Linked DNA regions of Homo sapiens: region 1 is linked to region 2. Evidence: promoter capture Hi-C in human tissues and cell types (Jung and others, 2019). All regions are on one chromosome and are shown on one strand. Each heading gives the region's core, a stretch centred on a gene start or on the middle of the fragment in contact. The rest is flanking DNA. Distances are from core to core; before and after follow the strand shown. Region 1 has its middle 24 kb from the start of KICS2. Region 2 holds the start of AVPR1A (arginine vasopressin receptor 1A).

What was found. The method cuts DNA at HindIII sites, captures the fragments that hold promoters and counts their contacts. A contact is called where the count stands out against the background at its distance.
Region 1: a contact is called between a fragment that was not itself captured here and the fragment with the promoter of AVPR1A in region 2, in 1 of the 25 tissues and cell types used here (thymus).

Annotation. Positions count from the first base shown.
Region 1 is chr12:64,245,196-64,247,895 of GRCh38, forward strand. No RefSeq gene overlaps it. Among named protein-coding and RNA genes, the nearest start is that of KICS2, 24 kb to the left of the region's middle. The HindIII fragment of the contact is 5,361 bases long and covers 1-2,700 here.
Region 2 is chr12:63,149,925-63,152,624 of GRCh38, forward strand. It overlaps AVPR1A (arginine vasopressin receptor 1A), which reads right to left and starts at 1,277. Exons shown (of 2, transcript NM_000706.5): 1 at 1-1,277. The coding sequence starts at 912. The HindIII fragment of the contact is 8,253 bases long and covers 1-2,700 here.

The sequences.
Region 1 (2,700 bases), core at 151-2,650, 1.1 Mb after region 2:
AGATCCCAAGTGCAGTACGAAAACTAAGCAGTTGCCTTGGCGAGGACTCTGATTGTAAGAAGGAAATTTAAATTAAACTCTACCCTTAGCCCCTCATATTAGCTCTCCAAAAGGACAGTGAGATGAAGCTTTGTTTTTCAAATCTGAGACGGTTAGGAATTGAAGCTGACTAGCCACTATAGACTGAATGTTTACGTCTCCCCAAAAATCATATGTTGAAACCTGACCCCCAATGTGCTTGTATTTGGAGGTGTGGCCTTCAAGAGGTGATTCATGTGGGCACAGCCCTCAAAAGTGGGATTAGTGCCCTTATATGAGACTCCAGAGAGCTCCCTGGCCACTTCCACTATATGAAGACACAGTGAGAGGACAGCCATCTATGAACCAGGAAGCAGGCCCTCACCAGACACCAAATCTGCCAGTGCCTCGATCTTGAACTTCCCTTGCAGCTCCTCAAAACTGTGAGAAATATTTGTTTTGGATAAGCCACCCAGTCTGTGGCATTTTGTGATAGCAGCTTGAGTGGACTAAGACACTAACCAAATGGTCTAGAAGAAGAGAGATGGATAAAATGATTGCTTGTCTGGGAAGTGTGGCTGAGACCAAGTGAAGGTCCTTGCAACCAAGTAGCTATGCAAGAACCCAGTACTAGAAACCACAATGAGTCTGAATGTACCTGAGTTCCTGGGCTGAATTTGTGGCTGTAATTACAAACCAGCAGGTGGTGAGGAGTTCATTATTGCTTATGTCAAACATCTATAAGATAGATCCTTTCACCAGCAAGACCTGAGAACAAAGGACTTTCTGATTACAGTCAACTTCCAGCTCTCCTTAAGTGAGTCTTCCAAGCTCAAATAGCTGAATCCACTAACAGGCCTCTGAAAGGAATCAGTTCATCTGTCATCCTGCGTGAATATATCCACAACAGAAGTTGCCAACCTACCTACCACCTGCAGGACAATTTTGGCTCACAGCCCGCTGTTGTTTATTTTTCAGCAGCTTGATTTGAGATATAATTCACATACTATACAATTCACCCTTTTAAAGTGTGCAGTTCAGTGGTTTTTAGTATATTCACTGAGTTGTGCAACCATCACTACAATTTTATAACGTTTTAATCAACTCCCTCCCCAAAAAAACCCACAACCATCCAGCCCTAGGTAACTGCTAATCTACTTTCTGTCCTTATAGATTTGCCTATTCTGGCATTTCTTATAAATGGAGTCATACACTATGTGGTTTTTTGTGACTGGCTTCTTTCACTTAGCATAATGTTTTCAAGACTCATCCATGTTCTAGCACATGAATGCTTCATTCTTTTTTGTTTTGTTTTGTATTGTGGTTTTTTTATTTCAGTAGGTTTTTGGGGAACAGGTCGTATTTGGTTATACAGGGATAAGTTCTTCAGTGGTGATTTCAGAGATTTTAGTGCACTCATCACTCAAGCAGTGTACATCGTACCCAATATGCAGTCTTTCATTCCTCACCCCACCTCCCATGCTTCTCCCAGAGTCTCCATAGTTCATTGTATTATTATTATTATTATTATTATTGAGACAGAATTTCACTCTTGTTGCCCAGTCTGGAGTGCAGTGGTGCGATCTCGGCTCACTGCAACCTCTGCCTCCCGGGTTCAAGCGATTCTTCTGCCTCAGCCTCCTGAGTAGCTGGGATTATAGGCACCCGCCACTATGCCCGGCTAATTTTTGTATTTTTAGTAGAGACGGGGTTTTGCCATGTTGGCCAGGCTGGTCTTGAACTCCTGACCTCAGGTGATTCACCTGCCTCAGCCTCACAAAGTACAGGGATTACAGTCTTGAACCACTGCACCCAGCCCATTGTATCATTCTTATGCCTTTGCATCCCCATAGTTTAGCTCCCACTTATAAGCAAGAACATATGATATTTGGTTTTCCATTCCTGAGTTACTTCACTTAGAATAATGGCCTCCAACTCCATCCAGGTTGCAAATGCCATTCTTTCATTTATTTTTATGGCTGAGTAGTATTCCATTTTATATATATATATATATCACATTTTATCCACTCATTGATTGATGGACATTTGGTCTGGTCCCATATTTTTGCAGTTATGAATTGTGCTGCTATAAACATGTGTGTGCAAGTGTCTTTCATATAATGACTTCTTTTCCTCTGGCTAGATACCCAGTAGTGGGACTGCTGGATCAAATGGTAGTTCTACTTTTAGTTCTTTAGGGAATCTCCACTGTTTTTCACAGTAGTTGTACTCGTTTACATTCCCATCAACAGTGTAAAAGTGTTTCCCTTTCACCACATCCACACCAACATCTATTATTTTTTTATTTTTAAATTATGGCCATTCTTGCAGGAGTAAGGTGGTATCACATGTGGCTTTGATTTGCATTTCCCTGATAATTAGTGACGCTGAGCATTTTTTCATATGATTGTTGGCCATTTGAATATCTTCTTTTGAGAATTGTCTATTCATGCCCTTAGCCCATTTTCATGGGATTGGTTTTTTTCTTGCTGACTGGTTTGAGTTCCTTGTATATTCTGGATATCAGTCTTTGGTTGGATAGTTTGCAAAGATTTTTCCCCTCTCTGTGGGTTTTCTGTTTACTCTGCTGCTTCTTTCGCTGTGCAGAAGCTTTCTGGTTTAATTAAGTTCCATTTTATTTATCTTTGTTTTTGTTCCATTCGCTTTTGGGTTCTTGGTCAT
Region 2 (2,700 bases), core at 27-2,526:
CCAGCAGACGATGTAAGCCGTCACGATCACAAAAGTCATCTTCACCGTGCGGATCTTGGCCCGGGAAATGGACTTCACGCTGCTGACACAGGGTGCGAGCAGGAACCCCTTTTGGAAGGCCACACCCGCTTGCTCTGCACCCTTGCTCTGGCGCGACGCCGTCTTCCCGCGGACGTTGCACCAGATGTTGTAGCAGATGAAGCCGTAGCAGGTACCCAAGATGACCACGGGCGCCACAAAGATGCCGCCCGTCATCCAGGTCACGTAGGCACGAGAACCCCAGGGCTGGATGAAGGTGGCCCAGCAGTCGCGGGCCTTGGTGACATTGTTCACCTCGATCATGGAGAAGACGAAGTACTGCGGCGTGCTCAGCACGAAGCTCAGCACCCAGGCGGCCGCGATCATGAGGCGCGAGCGGCGCGCGGGCTGTTGCAGAGTCTTGAGCGGGTGGCACACCGCGATGTAGCGGTCGGCTGTCATGACTACCAGCATGTAGGCCGACGCAAACATGCCGAACACCTGCAGGTGCTTCACCACGCGGCACAGCCAGTCGGGGCCGCGGAAGCGGTAGGTGATGTCCCAGCACATTTGCGGCAGCACCTGGAAGAATGCCACGGCCAGGTCGGCCAGGCTGAGGTGTCGGATGAAGAGGTGCATGCGGGACGTCTTGCGCGGCGTCCGGTGCAGAGCCAGCAGTACGCTGCTGTTGCCCAGCACGGCCACCGCGAAAGTCACCGCCAGCACGGCGATCTCCAGTTTGGCCAGCTCCTCGTTGCGCACGTCCCTCGGTGGGCCGTTGCCCTCCCCGAGGGCTTCGGCCTCCCGGCTTGTGTTGCCAGCGCCGGTGGCCAGAGGCCACCATGGGCTGGAGTTGCCCGAGGGCCCCGCGTCGGGACCGGCGGAGAGACGCATGCTGTCCATGCAGCTCCTACTCGGCCCTCTTCGGAGCTCCAGCCCTCGCGGGCCGCTCCCTCCCCGTCTCGGAGGACTTGGGCTCCTCGTCCGAAGCGCAGGGTCTTTGGCGCGCTCGCAGCTTGCCGGGCTCTGCGATCCCTCCAGTGGGCGTCTCCCGGAGCAGCGTCCCGCCTGCCCACTGAGCAGCTCTCAGCAGGGTGAGCTGGCCCCTCTCCCTGCTCTGCCTTTTTTCAACTTCGGCGAGGTCGGGAAGGTGAGCTCCGAGCTTCCGGAAGCACTGGGTTCCCAACTCAAGTATTTATGCGGTGCTTGTTTCCTTGGGACGCGCTCCCTCCCGCCCTATTGCCGGAAGACTGCTGGTTGCCTACTCCCCGCTCCCTGGAGTTTTATTTTTTCCTCTCCCTACGTCGGTGTTTGTCCTCTGCATCACTGTGGAGGGGGTGGAGCTGGGAGACTCGCAGATTCCTCCTCACAGTAGGTGGGATCGTGGCGCTTTCCCGCTTTTCCCTTCCAAAAACTTGGACAACTGGACGAGTCATGCCTTTTCTGGGCTCGTAGCCGTTTCCACAAGCTTCCCTCACTAGCCTTCCTCGCTAGCCTCCTTAACCATGCATTTGACTTCAACAGGCACGCTAAGCGCGGTACCTGGAAACCTCCAGTCCACGCACCGGCGTCCACGCATCTAGCTCCTGCACCTGAACCTGGCTCTCGACCTCACCTCCTCCAGTCCGGGTTTCTTCCTTCTCACCGAGCTCACCCGTGCAGCAGTCTGGCAAATTTTATTCCCCAGGCAAATTTTCCCGGGGCAAACATTTCTCCCCGCTCGTGACTTAAAGAGCTATCTCTTCCTAGTAACGTCTTTGATGCATGCTATTTATTACCCTATGTTTGCGACGGGAAGAACGCACTCATCACTTTGCAGCCCCAGTGGCTGCTGTGCCTGTATTCACAGCGGGGTTTGGGGGGAGTGTCTCCTGGTTTTCTCTATGGAGACTAGGGACTTAAGGAGTTTTCTCTAGATTCCTGGGGTTTTCTGCGGGAAAAGCCTGATTCCCACAGCGGGGATGGCGGAAATTTGGCCGCAGTGGTCCGTGGGGACCGTCTGGTTACTACTGAGTCGTGGGGACATCTTTTTGGGTGGACAAAGAGCAGCTGCCGGACAGCGGCCATCCAGGCAGTGCTGTCCAGGGCAAGGGACAGAAAACCCGCCCGGCTCCTGTGCTCAGGAGTAAGAAAGAGGCAATCTCAAAGAGAGGAAAGAGGCCCTGGGAAGGAGGGGAAACAACCACCTACCTAGTAATCCGTTACTCTGAACAGCTGGAGCCCCTCTGCAGGGCGGGAGGGAGGCAGAAATGCGATCTCCCTCAGCTCTGTTTTAACGTTGGTGAAGATATGCCTCGACGGACAGCAAGGGGGAGCTGTTTTCAGGCAATTTTACAAGGAAGAAAGGAAGCCGTTTCTGCAGTTATCTGCTGTGTAGATGCAGGAGCATGACTTTGTTGGTCAGAACGTTTCAGTATTGTGGCCGTGGTATAAATTTAATTGCCTCAGAAAAATATCACCCTCTGTGAAACGTAGGCAAAAAATGCAAAAGATTTTATTCATTGCAGTTCTCAGTAATAATTCCACTTTACTATCCAGTCCGTTCATGCAGAGTTACCAAGGTTGTCACGTTGAGATGCTGGACTTGAAATCTGGAGTCCTGCTTCCTGTGGCTAGATAATCCTGGGTCTGTGCGTCTTATAAATGGAAATGAAAGGACCTGCCTTTCCTGTTGTTGAGGTC